2 separate regions of the Homo sapiens genome follow, and region 2 is linked to region 1. Evidence: promoter capture Hi-C in human tissues and cell types (Jung and others, 2019). All regions are on one chromosome and are shown on one strand. The core of a region is centred on a gene start or on the middle of the fragment in contact, and the rest is flanking DNA. Distances in the headings are between cores, read along the strand shown. Region 1 holds the start of CRYGN (crystallin gamma N). Region 2 overlaps RHEB (Ras homolog, mTORC1 binding).

Region 1 (7,315 bases), core at 4,098-6,597:
CTACTGAGCTTTGTTCATTCACCATTTCAGAAACTCTTGTCACTAAAACAAAAAACCAAATTGCAGAAGGCTACATATAATGTAGCCACACTAAAAATTTTCTATTATTTACAGATACATACAAAGAAAGTAAAAAGATGAAAACACACAAAGACATAACACAAAAATCAGGACAGTATCTTATCCTTATGGGGAAGGAAGCCTTCAATTCTATGTATAATGATTTCTTATTTTAAGGAAAAACATTGATCCGACATAAACCTGGCAAAATGCTAAGATTTGACAAACTTTGTATGGTGGTGTTATTGTTCCTTATATTATTTCCTATTCTTCTCTGTGCTCTAAATTACCCAAAAACGGGAGAGACAAGAGGCAGAGAAGGGAGGCAGGCAAACGGGTGATGGCTCAGGGTGATTTATTATTAAAACCATTAGCCTCCACGCTGTAAAACTCTCCAATGCTGAGCAGCTACTGGTAGTTCTAAGGCTACATGTTATTGAGATTTTATTTTTTAAGCCATGATAGCATTCTTAGCCTTGCTTCTTCTGTGCTGTCACGATATTTATTCTCAGTCCATTTCCTTAGAATTTTGTCCCCAACTAGCAGCTGTATAGTGACTCAAGATCTCACCTACCTCAAGGTACATTTTAACAGTGCTCTACCAAAGATGACTCAAAAAAATGACTCTGATGTTGAGGTTTGGTGATACTGGCATTTGCATATTATGTAGCTATTTTGGGGAGGGGTTCTACCTGGCCACAAATAGATAATATGAATCTTAGCAGACTCCTCCTCTGGTAACTGAATTATAATAAAATCCCAGGTGGGAATTGAGATATTGCATTAGAAATAGGGAATGGAGGTGAAATTTGCAGGTATCTTATTCATCTACCCATTTTTAATAATTCTTTGCGTGGGGCTTTCAGCTAGGCATTTTTTCATATATATTTCTCAGAAAACACCCCAAATCACTGCTTCTGTTTTGGATTCTGTTGTCATCACCTTTTTGGGTTGTCTGTGTGCTCTGGCCCTGCTGTGATGAGGGCAAATACAAATTAAAAAGAAGAAGTTCAGCTGGGCACAGTGGCTCACACCTGTAATCCCAGCACTTTGGGAGGCCAAGGCAGGCGGATCACTTGAGGTCAGGCATTCAAGACCAGCCTGGCCAACGTGGTGAAGCCCCATCTCTACTAAAAATACAAAAATTGGCCAGGCGCGGTGGCTCACGCCTGTAATCCTAGCACTTTGGGAGGCCAAGGCAGGCGGATTGCCTGAGCTCAGGAGTTTGATATCAGCCTGGGCAACATGGTGAAACCCCATCTCTACTAAAATACAAAAAACTAGCCAGGCTTGGCGGCGTGTGCCTGTAGTCCCAGCTACTCGGGAGGCTGAAGCAGGAGAATCGCTTGAACCCAGGAGGTGGATGTTGCAGTGAGTTGAGATCACGCCACTGCACTCCAGCCTGGGCAACAGAACAAGACTCCATCTCCAAAAAAAAAAAAAAAAAAAAAAAAAAATTAGCTGGGCGTGGTGGCACACACCTGTAGTCCCAGCTACTGGGGAGGCTGAGGCAGGAGAATTGCTTGAACCTAGGAGGCAGAGATTGCAGTGAGCTGAGATCGCATCACTGCACTCCTGCCTGGGGGACAGAGCAAGACTCCATCTCAAAAAAAAAAAAAAAAAAAAGCTCTTAAAACAACAATGAGACACCACTGCACACTTATTTGAATGGCTAAAATCCAAAACTTGATAGCACCAAATGGTCAGAATGAAAAATCATATAGCCACTTTGAAAGAGAGTTTGACAGTTTCTTTTTATTTGATTTGATTTTGAATTTTTTAGAGACAGGGTCTTGCTATGTTGTCCAAGCTGGTCTTGAACTCCCGGCCTCAAGTAATCCTCCTGCCTTAGCCTCCTGAGTAGCTGGGATTACAGGTACAAGCCTCTGCACCTGGCTTTTATTTTTTTTTCAGTTTGTTGCACAACTAAACATACCTGTAACATATGATCCAGCAATCCCACTCCTTAGTGTATAGTGAAAGGAGCACACAAAAATCTACACGTGGTTGTTTATAGAAGCTTTCCTCATAATTGCCAAAACTTGGACACAACCAAAATGTCCTTCCATTGATGAATAGATAACTAAACTGTGGTACTTCCAGACAAGGGAACATGATTCAGCAGTAAAAAGAAATGAGAGACTAGGCCAGGAAAAGATATGAGGGAATCTTAAATGCATATTACTAAGTGGAAGAAACCAATCTGAGAAAGCTACTTGCTGTCTTAGTCCGTTTTGTGCCGCTATAACAGAATACCACAGACTGGGTAATTTACAATGAACACAAATGTACTGGCTCACAGTTCTGGAGGCTGAGAAGTCTAACATCACGGTGCTGGCATCTTTCAAGGGCCTTCTTGCTGTATCATCCCATGGGAGAAGGGCAAAGAGAGGGTGAGAGAGAGCAAGCGGTTGACCTTGTAGCCCTTTATGGTCAGCGTTAATCCATGAATGAGGGTGAAGCCCTCATGACCTAAACCCTTCCCATGAGACCGCATCTTTCAACATTGTTGCATTGGGGATTAAGTTTCCAACACATGTGTTTTGGGGGACACGTTCAAACCGTAGTAGCTACATACTGTAAGATTCCAAATACATGACATCCTGAAAAAGGCAAAACCGTGAAGATAGTAAAAAGATCAGTGGTTGCCAGGAGTTAAGGGGGAGAGAGGGATAAACAGATGGAGCCCAGGGGACTTTTTTTTTTATCTTTTTTTTTTTTTTTTTGAGACGGAGTTTAACTCTGTCGTCCAGGCTGGAGTGCAGTGGCGCAATCTTGGCTCACTACAACCTCCACCTTCCAGGTTCAAGCAATTCTCACTGCCTCAGCCTCCTGAGTAGCTAGGATTACAGGCGCCTGCCACCACGCCTGGCTAGTTTTTGTATTTTTAGTAGAGACAGGGTTTCGCCCTGTTGGCCAGGCTGGTCTCAAACTCCTGACCTTAGGTGATCCACCCGCCCCGGCCTCCCAAAGTGCTGGGATTACAGGTGTGAGCCGCCGTGCCCAGCCCACACAGGGGACTTTTAAGGTGGTGAGAATACTCTACCTGGTGCTCTAATGGTGGAACCATGGCATTACACTGTAGAGGCAGCAAAGTTCTACCTCCATCCTCTTAGGGTCCTGGCTGGGCCTGAGAAATAAATTGACCTAAGACAGATTAACAAGAGAAAAGCATACAAACTTATTTAATACAAGTTTTATGTGGCATGGGAGCCCTTATAAGGAGATGAAGACCCAAAGAAAAAGTTAAGAGTCAAACACTTACATACTCAACTGGACAAAGAGTAGCAAGCTGTGAAAAATCAACCACATTATGTGGGGAGGCTTTAAAAATGTGTTATTTTAACAAAGTCTACGCCGCATTCTCTCAACTTCTCATCCTGTATCCCGATGTATAACATAGGTTCATCGGCTGTGACAAATGTACCACTCTAATGGGGGCGCTGATTGTGGAGGAGGCTCTGTGTGTGTGTGTGTGTGTGTGTGTGTGTGTGTGTGTGTGTGTGTAGGGGCAGGGGGTATACAGGAAATTGCTGTACCTTTTGCTGAATTCAACTTGAACCTAAAGCTGCTCTAAAAAATAAAACCTTTTTTTAAGGCTTATTTTTCCCTGTTGAAAATAAGGGAAGAGGCTTCCCTTTCCTCCCTTTTCTTGCAGAATTTCCTTCTCTGTCATTTTCAAATGTGTGTAAATCTTTTTAATGGCTAAACAAGCCTCTTGCCAGTCTAACAACTCAGTCATGTTTCCTCTGGGAGCCTCTTTGAGTCTTGACATCAAGGAGTAAGTGCCCCCACCCTCCCCGTTTCCTAAGAAGCCTGACTTCAGCTGTCACCTGACTCCAAATTGCAAAACCCACCTCCAGTCATAGAGATACAAGAAAATCAGCAATTTTATCCTGAAAACATGAATGCAGTGGGTTGTGTCTGCTTGGCTACAGAAGAGTGAGATCTCTCTCCATCTTTGCGATCTCTTAGGGGAGAGATCGTGATGCAGATCGCATTCCAGTTTAAAGTTTATTCAATAATAAAATTGTTTTTTTTTCCTTCTACCTTCGTGGAGAAGTTTTCTGGGTTGGCTGGAGATTTTGTTTTTAATTTTATGTCCCCACCAGGGCCCAGGTCCAGAGAGAAACATTGGAATGTGTGGCTTGGCAAGTAAGGGCGCCAGTGGAGGCAGCTGGGCGGCGTCCCTAGGGAGGGGCGTCCCTAGGGAGGACCGTCCCTGGGTTCAAGGGTGACATGCAGGTTCTGGTTTGTACCCTGTCTACTTTTGAAAACCTCCCACAGCAGAGGCAAGGTCACCCCTCTGCCCCAAGAATCACATAACCTCCTCTTCCTGGGCCTCAGTGTCTCATCTGTGAAATGGTCATAAAAATATACTGTTTGAAGGAAGAGCAGCCCAAACTCCTCCCCAAAGCTCCTCCCTCCCCTCCAGCAGAAGCCCCTGTGGAGCACCTGCCCCTCTCTCCTTTGATCTCAGAGCCTGTCCCCCACCACCCCAGCCATCTGAGTCATGAGTCCTGTGTTCCCAGCTCATCTCCCCAGCCGTGTGGGGGCTGCACATCCTGTGGGCTCCATGTTCGCTCTGCTCACTCCACAATCTCTGAGCCTCTGCTGTCTGCCAAGTGCTCGTTCTGGGCCCTGGGGAACTCTCCCTCCGCGGTGGGGCTGCTTTGTGCTGTAAACTGATCCTGGGCGTCCAGGGTGGCTTAGTTGGTGCAGCAGAGAGGCAAGGGGCAGAGCACTGTACCCCCAGCTCAGGGCAGCGCGGGTCACCTGGTCACCCTAGGCAGGATCTTCAAGGAGAGAGGGACCCAGGGAGGGAGAGTGCCAGGGAGGGAGGCAGGCAGGAAGAGAGCGGGAGGAGGGAGGCCTGACCTGGCCTGGCGTTTTGTGGGGTGTGGGGGGGTGCATCAGGAGCTGGGTGAGTTGGAGCCGGAGGTCTAAGGTGGGGACCTGGGAGCTCAGACCAGAGCAGCCAGGGGAGGGGCGGTCAAGGGCTGTCTGTCTGTCCGGGGAAGCTTGGGTTGCATCCTCGTGGAGACAAACAAGTTGGCACCAAGGCGAGACTACCTGCAGCCAGGTGAGAAAGGGGAGTGGGCTGGGGAGCTCGGAACAGGCCTTGGGAGGGAGGGAGATGGGCGTGAGGGCTGAGGGGCAGCGCAGGGGAAGAAAGGTTGGAGGGCTAGAGAGACACCTCCCCTCCTCCCCCCACCACTCCAGGGCAGGGCAGGGGCAGCCGCGGGCTGGGCGGGAGGGCTCAGGGAGGAAGGAGGCTCGGGAGCTAAACGCGGAGAGCACAGGGAGACCCCGGGCAGGGCGGGCTGCACTCGCGGTGGCACAGGGTGGCCGCGGCGGGTCCCAACCGCCTGGTGGCCCCTCGGGCTTAGCACGCCCGACAGCACTAACGCTCCGGGGCCGGCCCAGCAAATCTTTTGTCCGGGGCGGCGCTGAGCCAGCAGGGCGCTGCCCGGTGTAAACGGGGACCCGCGGAAGGGGCGGGGCGCACCATGGCGCAGCGCTCGGGGAAGGTGAGTGCGTCCCTCAACCCCAAGGAAACCGAGTGGGGCTCCGCCTTCGCCCCCTGTGCTAGGGGATGCAGGAGGGTGCACACTGTTGATGGTGACAAATCCAAGGGAAGCTGGTTTAATTTCTTAATAAAATGGGGTGGCCTCGCTACTGGCCTGGGGCCTCTCTGGTGTGGATGGATAGGAAGGTCTCCATCTCCACTCCTTCCTTCTGGGATTCCAACCCCTCGCCCTGCAGTCAGGAGCAGGGAGGGTGTTCAGACTCCCTGGGGCTTCCTTGGGGTGGGGGAGGCTTGGCTTGTCCCACAGCCCTCCGCCCCACTGCTGCGGCTTCTTTGCCCAAGGCTGGCCTCTATGGCTTTTCCTTCCCAGGGTCTCTTCAGGGACACTTAGGGCTGGTTCTCTGAAAAATGTTGAGATTTGAGGGAGCCCCGAATCCCTTTGGTGCCCAGACCTCCCTGAAGGTTTCAGGGGCCCTCTACCAGCCGTGCCTGGTGCAGGAAGGACGGGAGACCTGGCTCTCCCTCGCCCTCTCCAGTGCCCCTAGCCTAGCCACTCCCATGAAGCCTTTGGTCTCCAAGGCCACATTCCAGAGTGTCTGGGGGTGACTGTGTTGCTGTATCAGTCTGCATGGGCCAGGTGATGCTTCAGTAACAAAGGGCCCCAGTAACTCTGGGGTGCAGAACGCCAAGGTGTCTGCCTCCTTTCCGGTGAACGCATGTGGCCACGCCTGACTCCAAGGGGCCTGGAAGGGCAATTCTCGTGTTCTTTTGAGCGAACTGGAGACACTGGTGAGGCACAAGCGACCATAGTGATGGGGAACATCACTGCACTCTGGCAGGACCCTTCTAGGGCCACAGTTCTTGAAACCCAAAGAGTTACTAAATGGTTGAGATTTTAGGTTCCACAGCAGGAAATGAGTCTGGCGGGTTGTTATTGCTTCACTTTGTTTTGTTTCGGGACAAGGACAACCTGTGAGTGCCACGTAGCTATAAGACACGATGTCTGAACTCCCAGCAGGGTGATGGAGCTCCAGATCTGATACATGCCTGCTACCCAAAGGAGTGACCTACAAAACACAGAGAGACAGGGTGGCACTTATAAGCCCTCTTTTGCGAACATTAATCCCGAGCCAGGCCCTGACGCGGCTTCGGCCCATTCAGCCTCTCCAGTGAAGGAGGCCCAATCCCAGGAACCCGAATTTCTGCAAAATATATGCTGGGTTACCATGAGAGGGTTGTGGGTGAAATTTCTTCTTTTGAAAACACCTCCTTTAATGTTATTATCGGCTTTATGTTTTAATAATTAAAAAATGAGTTAAAAATGCAGTGGAAGTTGAAAACAGCCCATTTTGAAATGGGCACCTAGACAAAGGGGAAACCCCTGTCCCCAAATCGCTGCTGAAATTTGTCTGCCCCACTGTGAGCTCCTAAGGGTGGGGAGGAACAGTAGCTGTGTATGGCATCAGCCTGCCAGCTGTTCGTTCTTTTGCCCAATTGGCAAATAGTGTTGGGCACCTACTGTGTGCAGCAGGTCTGGGCTTTTGGGGGCCTGGGAGTAGGGGTTCCATCCAGGGTGTTGGGACCCAGACGCCAGCCTCCAACGCTGACGGAGAGAAGCCCCTGACCCTGAGCTCTGTAACCTGCCCTTTCTAGATCACTCTCTATGAAGGCAAGCACTTCACAGGGCAGAAGCTGGAGGTCTTCGGGGACTGTGACAACTTCCAG
Region 2 (7,335 bases), core at 234-2,733, 46 kb before region 1:
AACCTCTATGACCGTGGTTAGTAGCATTTACTAGTAAATAGCTATTAGTCTACTTAGGAGAATTTCAGGGGTTTAGGTTGGAAATGGATTCTCTGGTGATTCAAAGAGGCAGGGAGAAAGGGGCTCAAGGAGAGTGATGTCAGAAGAAAGCCAGCTTTCCACTTTGACATGAGGTTAAAATGAGAGACAGTAGAATTATTTCCGAGTCTATCCTATCTCTTATTATACCTCCCTTTTTTCTATAGTAAAAAACTGGCAGTTTTCCTATGACAGCAAGATGGAAGGTCTTTTTCATTTTACTGCTACAAGTAGGACAAGTTACATTCTTTTTACATGCAAAGATAGATGCAAATGTTTATTTTTTTTTTTTTCTTTTATACACTATGTACAATGACATCTCAGTCTTCTTGGCCGAATCTTCTGCATTTTTTTGACTTGGCAACATGGGGTGCCCTGGTTCAGGCCTTTCCTCTGCACTTGCTCTCAAGTAATCTTCCCCTCTCTTCAATTTGCTATTGACTCACCAGTGTGTATTCTCAGCCGCAACCTCTCCCCCCAGCTCTGGGCTTTATTTTATAATTTATTTTATTCTACATGACAAGGTCTTTCACTCTGTCCTTCAGGCAGGAGTGCAGTGGCATGATCATAGCTCACTGTAACCTTGAATACCTGGGCTTAAAATGATCTTTCCTCAGCCTCACAAGTAGCTAGGACTACAGGCGTGAGCCACCACGCTGGAGCAGTTTTTCCATTTTTGTGGAGATTGGGTCTCCCTGTGTTGCCCAGGGTGGTCTTGAACTCCAGGCCTCAAGCAGTCCTCCTGCCTGGGCCTCCCAAAGTGGGATTACAGGCATAAGCCACTACATCCTGGGCTTTTTTATTTAACTGCCTGCATTTCCCCTTGGTATTTAATAGGCATCCCAAAACATCCCTAAAACCCAACTCATTTCCCTTCCTCTCCTATCCCTAGTATTCTTCCCCTAGTCTTTCCTGTAAGTGGCAACTTACAGAAGCTTTGGAGTCATCCTGACTCTTCATTTTCTTACATCCCACTTCCAGTCAATCAGAAAATCCTTTTGGTTCTGCCTCTGAAATATTTCCAGAATATCTCCACCTCTAATCCAGGCCAGTGTCACCCTCTATAGATTGTGATAGTCTGTACAGTCATGTGGTCACTGTATCATGGGCTCCTGCCTAATATCCCTGGGACCATTTTTGTTACTTACAGCGTAGCCAGAGTGATCTTTCCTTGGTTTCTCCTCACATTCAGAGTAAAAATCCCAAGTTCTGTAGGACCTTCTGCCTCCTGTCCATCCTAGTTAGCTATCTACCGTTCTCTCTGAGCTTTAGCTGCATTGACTTTTTTGCTTTTTTCACTTGCTGTTTAACCTCTGCCTGGGTGTTCCACTCCCAGGGAAGATACCCGACAGGGTGGGAGGGTACATGTGTGTGTCTATACCTTCTTTCCTTCCCTGGGATCTAAGCTCACTGAGTATCAGAGACTACAGCATCCCAAGCACCCACAACAGTGCTACTGGTGATAATAGGCACTCAAGAAATTGTTCTTGAATGAATGAATGAATGAATGATGTTTCCTTTCAGTAACCTTGTCATCATAATTATACTTGATAACTGCAGTTACTTAGTTCTAATTGAAGGTCACTGGTTTTATTGCTCACCAGTGTTTCTTACATACTTCTCATCAAATCTGAAATACACTTCAATCTCACGTGACTGAAGGTTTTCACACAGCTATGTAGTGACTGCACCCTGGCTGACAAGGACTGAAACCTCCAGCGGTGCAGGATGCATCCCAAGTTCAGAGAGAATAAGGTGTAAAAACAAATCTGAATTCTTTCTTAGAATTGATGAAATAGGTTATATTGGGTATCCCCCCAGCTTGAAATATTCCGATTCAGTTTCCATCTGATTTAACTGTTTCCTAAAAGTGATAACTTCCGGAACAGGTACAAGCATAATATAGTGTGGCCATTGATTTCATGCTGTGGTCTGTTATCTTTACTCACCTGACTTTTGGCCCCCCTGCTTGTATTAGAAAAGTGTGACGCTAATATGGTTCTCTGTGATGATTGCTTGTCTTTCAGCCATCATTTCTTTCCCTGTGGAACTCATATAACTCAGATAAGATCTCTGATCAATCCTCCTTATTACTTAGAGTTTTCTCACATAATTTCCATTTGTCTGTGTCAGCTTTGCCTTTCTGCTGTGGGTAGAGTGGGACCTCTCTCAGTTGTATGAGGGATAGATTCTGCTGCCTGGCTCTAGTCATATAGGACGGCCAATCAGGAGATTGGAGGACTCATGGTGAGTCAAGATGGCTGGGGCGGGTATGCAAGATAAATCTGTTCCACTTCCTTGTCAGAGTTCCAGGTGGTTATTTTTACATTGTTTCTGTTAGTAGTTCTTTCCTCTTTTGTCTATATTTGTTTGAAGTCTGTCTCCCTCTAATTCTGAATTGACTTTTCCGGAAGTTATTCAAGTCTGATTTTCTTTCCTCCCTTGTCAGGGAAAAGAAGTTGTGACAAATTGCTTGGATCCTTAAGCTTAAGTGGGAAGGATGGCTTCAACACAGAACATCTGTTTCATTGCTGTTTTATCCGTCAGTAAAACTGTTACTTCTTTTATGTACTAAAAGTTCTTAGCACTTAACTAATATTAGCTCTTTGTGCTCTGATGCCAGACTTCCTATAAATTAATGGAAAATTTTTGTGGTTTTGGTTTATTCTAGACCTCAGACTTTACGTAGTATATTTCACTTTTTCACAAGAGGAAGGATTTGCCACACAGCATTCAAATTACTATTATAGGATATGAATTGTTGCGTACTTTGTCTCTTTGAAAAAGAATCAAGGTTTACCAAGCTTGATTTTAGCCAGTCACCGTATTTCCTAGCTAAATAATGGAAGTAGGGGAGAATCTATACAAGTCAGAGAGTTGTTCTTTTTTGTTTCATGGGGCCTTTCTCTGAGACTGCTAGGGACTCTGTGCTTGATTGGTTGTCATTGTTCAAACTTCAGGTGGTTTCGAGTTAATTTTTTTAAACTAATGTTTAATTTCCTTTTTCCCTGTAGCTTTTACAAAGTTGATCACAGTAAATGGACAAGAATATCATCTTCAACTTGTAGACACAGCCGGGCAAGTAAGTGACCTCTGGTATCTCAGAATCTTATACAGCATATCTGACAGTCTTGGTCCTAGCACTGATTTTTAAAAGTACCAGCTATGCCAAGAAAACCCCTCAGGTTGTGTGCAGACAGTCCCTGACTCCCAATGGTTTGGCTTGCAGTGGCTCGACTTAACAATTTCTCATCTTTACGATGGGTCTATTGAGGTATTTGATACATTTTCAACTCATGATATTTTTGGTTTACAGTAGGTTTATCACGATGTAACCCCATCATAAGTCAAGGAGCTTACACAGATAACTAAATGTTAGTATGCTGTCTACTTGGTCTTTTCTAAGACATTTCTGGCAGTTATCTTTTAATAACTTGTTTTTCTGCTTTAGAATTGCTTTAAATATATTAACATTGTAAGGGTTAATACTTATTACAGGATAGTGGTTTTCTATTTTCTAAACTTTAATTCTATATTAGAGAGTCATATTAGTTGCTTTCTTTCTCTTTGTGATATGTGTTCTCCTACATTAGGGCAAAAGTACATCTTTTCTAGAGGAAAGGCATAAGAGGGGCATAGGGCAGAAATTAGCTGATTTAATCTTATGAGGACCTGGGCCATAAAATACCAGTTTGACTGGAGTCCAGGCTCTGGTTTGAGTGTTGGCTTTAGTTTATATAGTAGAGTCTCTGGGTGGGTGGATTTGAGAGTGATTACTAGATTAGGGAGTTTCAATTTATTTGATAGACAGTAGATAATGGCCAAAAGTCAAATAATCCCCCCAGAAAGGATATTCACATGTCGGTTAATGTAGCAGGGATGTGTGGAATGGATCACCAGGGAATTGGCTGGAAGCAAGGGGGAAAGGAGTACATGAAACAAAGAAAAGCCCTTTTGACAGCTTAGCTGCCCCATTACCATGACATCCAGGCCTGCTTTTACTAGAAACTATTCTGTAAGACTGAATTTACCCTTCTTCACTGGAGGGTGAGGAATGTAAAGAAGCTGGGATTTCAGCTCCTAACTCCTGCCCTTGCAACATTTTTTTGAGACAGAGTCTTGCTCTGTCACCCAGGCTGGAAGGCAGTGGTGCTATCCCACTACAACCTGTGCCTCCTGAGTTAAAGCAATTCTCCTGGCACAGCCTCCCAAGTAGCCGGGATTACAGGCACACCACCACACCCGGCTAATTTTGTATTTTTAGTAGAGGCGGGGTTTCGCCATATTGGCCTGGCTGGTCTTGAACTCCTGACCTCAGGTGATTCACCTGCCTCGGCCTCTGAAAGTGCTAGGATGACAGGCATGAGCCACCATGCCTGGCCCGCCCTTGCAACTTATAATCAAAGGATAAGAGTAGCAGGAGGGTGAGTGTAGTGTGATCTGGTTTGCTGTGTTAAATGGGGGCTATTTTTCTGGAATCTGGGGAAATTGGAGTAGACCCAGAATAATATGACCTGTCCTGTGGGTTTGGAATGAATTCCCTCTGCTTTGCATTTTGAAGTAAACATAGAAGGAAAGTGTGATGCCTTAGTGAAGCAAGAAGATAGCTGTATTGAGTGATGTTAGCATTGGAGGAACCCTGAGGTTTCCATTTTGGAAGCTTGGAAGAAAATAAATGTGTTTGGCTCTTTGAGCTTGTACACAGAGCTATAGCATGTGCCTCCTTCACTCACCCTACACACTCCCTGCTGGTGGTGATGCAGTGTGCTTTAGCAGTCAGATTCTTGATGCTTTCATTAGAGCAGAGCCATCCTAGGCTTTCACCCCCTGATACCTGTCCTCTTGACAGAAGAATAGGAGTTGGGGCTTATATGGACCAGGGGAGCAGTAGAAGTCTCTGTTAGGGGGTCGGGGGCATGGCACAGATGACGAGGCTCATTAGAAATTAGTAGGGAAGGGAAGAGCCGCTTGAGTAGGAAATTGTTTTGGATTGTTGGGTTTTGTATCTTTCTTTTATAGTTGACTATATAATTTATTGCCTAAACCAAGACACTTTCAGAGTTGTGGGCTGGGGGTGCTAATAATAATTATGTTGGGACAACAGTGTAACTTAGAATGTCCTGGGCAAAGAAATACAGCTGTTCTGTTTATTGTGGGACTCTGACACTATCAAGACTTCAGTTTGCTTTTGTATCCTTATTTGGAATCTCCTTTAAGCTCCTGAAAACTGGTGATGAGAATGTAAATTGATAAATCACTTTCATGTAATGTTACTGTGGAAACACGTTTTGTATCAGGCAATTCAGGGAACCAGTATTTCATAACTGTTTGGAGTGTGGGCCCTGGGGTTACACTTGCCTGGATTTGAATCTTGGTTTTTGTTGCTAACCCAGTAACCTTAAGGAAGCGAATGAGGGCTGGGCATGGTGGCTCATGCCCTTAATCCCAACACTGTGGGAGGTGGAAGGATCACTTGAGCCCAGGAGTTTGAGGTTGCAGTGAGCTGTGATAGCACCACTGCAGTCCAGCCTGGGCAACACAGCGAGATCCCATCTCTTTACATAAAAGGGTGAAGAAGTCTTTCTGTGCCTCAGAGCTTTATCTATAAATAGTGATAACTGGCATTGTTGCAGGATTGTCACATTGGGGTTAAAGAGGCTGTGCTCTTTCTTTGTAGACCTTCAATGCTGCTGAGGCAAGTGTGACGCCAGCATATTAACTGTGTTGACAGGCTGCATGGTGGAAGTGCACATGTTCTTAATACTTGGAGAGCTGTCTTTGAAAAGATTTCTCTAAAGAATAAATTTCTTTATACTGACTACTTATCAAGTTGGAATATGTGTTCCTCTGGGGTACTGTTTTGCCCTGGAACATAAATGTACACTCAGGTATCAAACAATTTAAAATATTTTAGTGATGTAGTAATACAAATAGTGAAACCAAAAGCACCAGTGTTTAGGAAGAGTATATGATATGAGATAAGACAAGAGCAGTGGTCATATTAGCAGCCCTGTTGTCTTGCCCCTTCGGGTTATATTACAACTGGGTAAGAGTATTTGGAGAATTTTTGCACAAAATATATCCAAATTTGGCTACTTTAAATTATTTGTAGTCATTGCAACTAGTAGTTCTTGAAGGTTATATTTACAGTTGAGAGACAATAAATTAAAGATGTGCTCTTTATTTACAGCTCAGGATGGTGGCACACAGGCATGTCCTGCCGTGGTTTCACCCTTCATTCTGTTGAAAACTGGATGATAACAAACTCAGGTGTTTACTGCTCCAAGAGCTGCTTTATAAATTGGATGCATACGGGGGCTGGTTCTAGGATTAAGACTGGTAGTAGTAGGGTAAAATGATTAAGGGGCAAATTCTTTTAAAAGTAATCTATAGTAAATTTGTTCACTGGCTTCCACATTTCAGGAGTGAAATTGCACGCAGTGAATTGCTGCATAGCGGTATTTGTTAGCAAGTTCTATTTACTACTTAGTAGTTTATGTCGGTACATCCATACCACTATGGTTTAATAGTGGTTTAATTGCCCACCTAGGAATGATGATGAACATGGTTAAATACAGATTATTTTTAGATTGCATGAAATATTTTGGTTTTGCCCAATTTTAGGGTGAGAACATATACCCTAAATGAATTTTGGGGTAAGAATGTGAAGTATCAAAAAAAAAAAAAAGTAGCCTCTTCTATATTAACCTATTTATGCCTGGTGTTACATTATTGGAACGTTAAGCTTGTGGGAGTTATTTATATCCTACTGCTCAAGGTCACCAAGGTCTGATTTTTCATGAAAAAAAAAATTTTGCAACCTCCGGCATAAATGGGTTAATAACTTAGATTCACACCTGTAATCCCCGCACTTTGGGAGGCCAAGGCGGGTGGATCACTTTAGGTCAGGATTTTGAAACCAGCCTGACCAACATGGTGAAACTCTGTCTCTACTAAAACTACAAAATTAGCCAGACATGGTGGTACATGCCTATAATCCCAGCTACTTGGGAGGCCGAGGCAGGAGAATTGCTTGAACCCAGGAGGCGGAGGTTGTAGTAACCCAAGATTGCACCATTGCCCTCTAGCCTGGGCAACAAGAGTGAAACTCTGTCTCAAAAAAAAAAAATAATAATTAATAATAATTAAAATTGATTCAATGACAATCCATCTTATAATGTAACCAAATTTGCTTTTTTGAAAATTGAGTTTAATTTTTAAAAAATAGGTGTAATGCGCATGGTACAAAAATAAATA

What was found. Contacts are between HindIII fragments. The study calls those that stand out against the background at their distance.
Region 2: a contact is called between a fragment that was not itself captured here and the fragment with the promoter of CRYGN in region 1, in 1 of the 25 tissues and cell types used here (dorsolateral prefrontal cortex).

The regions. Positions count from the first base shown.
Region 1 is chr7:151,438,173-151,445,487 of GRCh38, reverse strand. CRYGN (crystallin gamma N) reads left to right here and starts at 5,347. Exons shown (of 4, transcript NM_144727.3): 1 at 5,347-5,591; 2 at 7,244-7,315. The coding sequence starts at 5,571. RefSeq lists enhancers at 4,319-4,855, 5,567-6,067, 6,068-6,568, 6,930-7,315. The HindIII fragment of the contact is 10,973 bases long and covers 1-7,315 here.
Region 2 is chr7:151,480,562-151,487,896 of GRCh38, reverse strand. It overlaps RHEB (Ras homolog, mTORC1 binding), which reads left to right. Exons shown (of 8, transcript NM_005614.4): 3 at 3,093-3,160. Among named protein-coding and RNA genes, the nearest start is that of RHEB, 36 kb to the left of the region's middle. The HindIII fragment of the contact is 4,655 bases long and covers 1-3,810 here.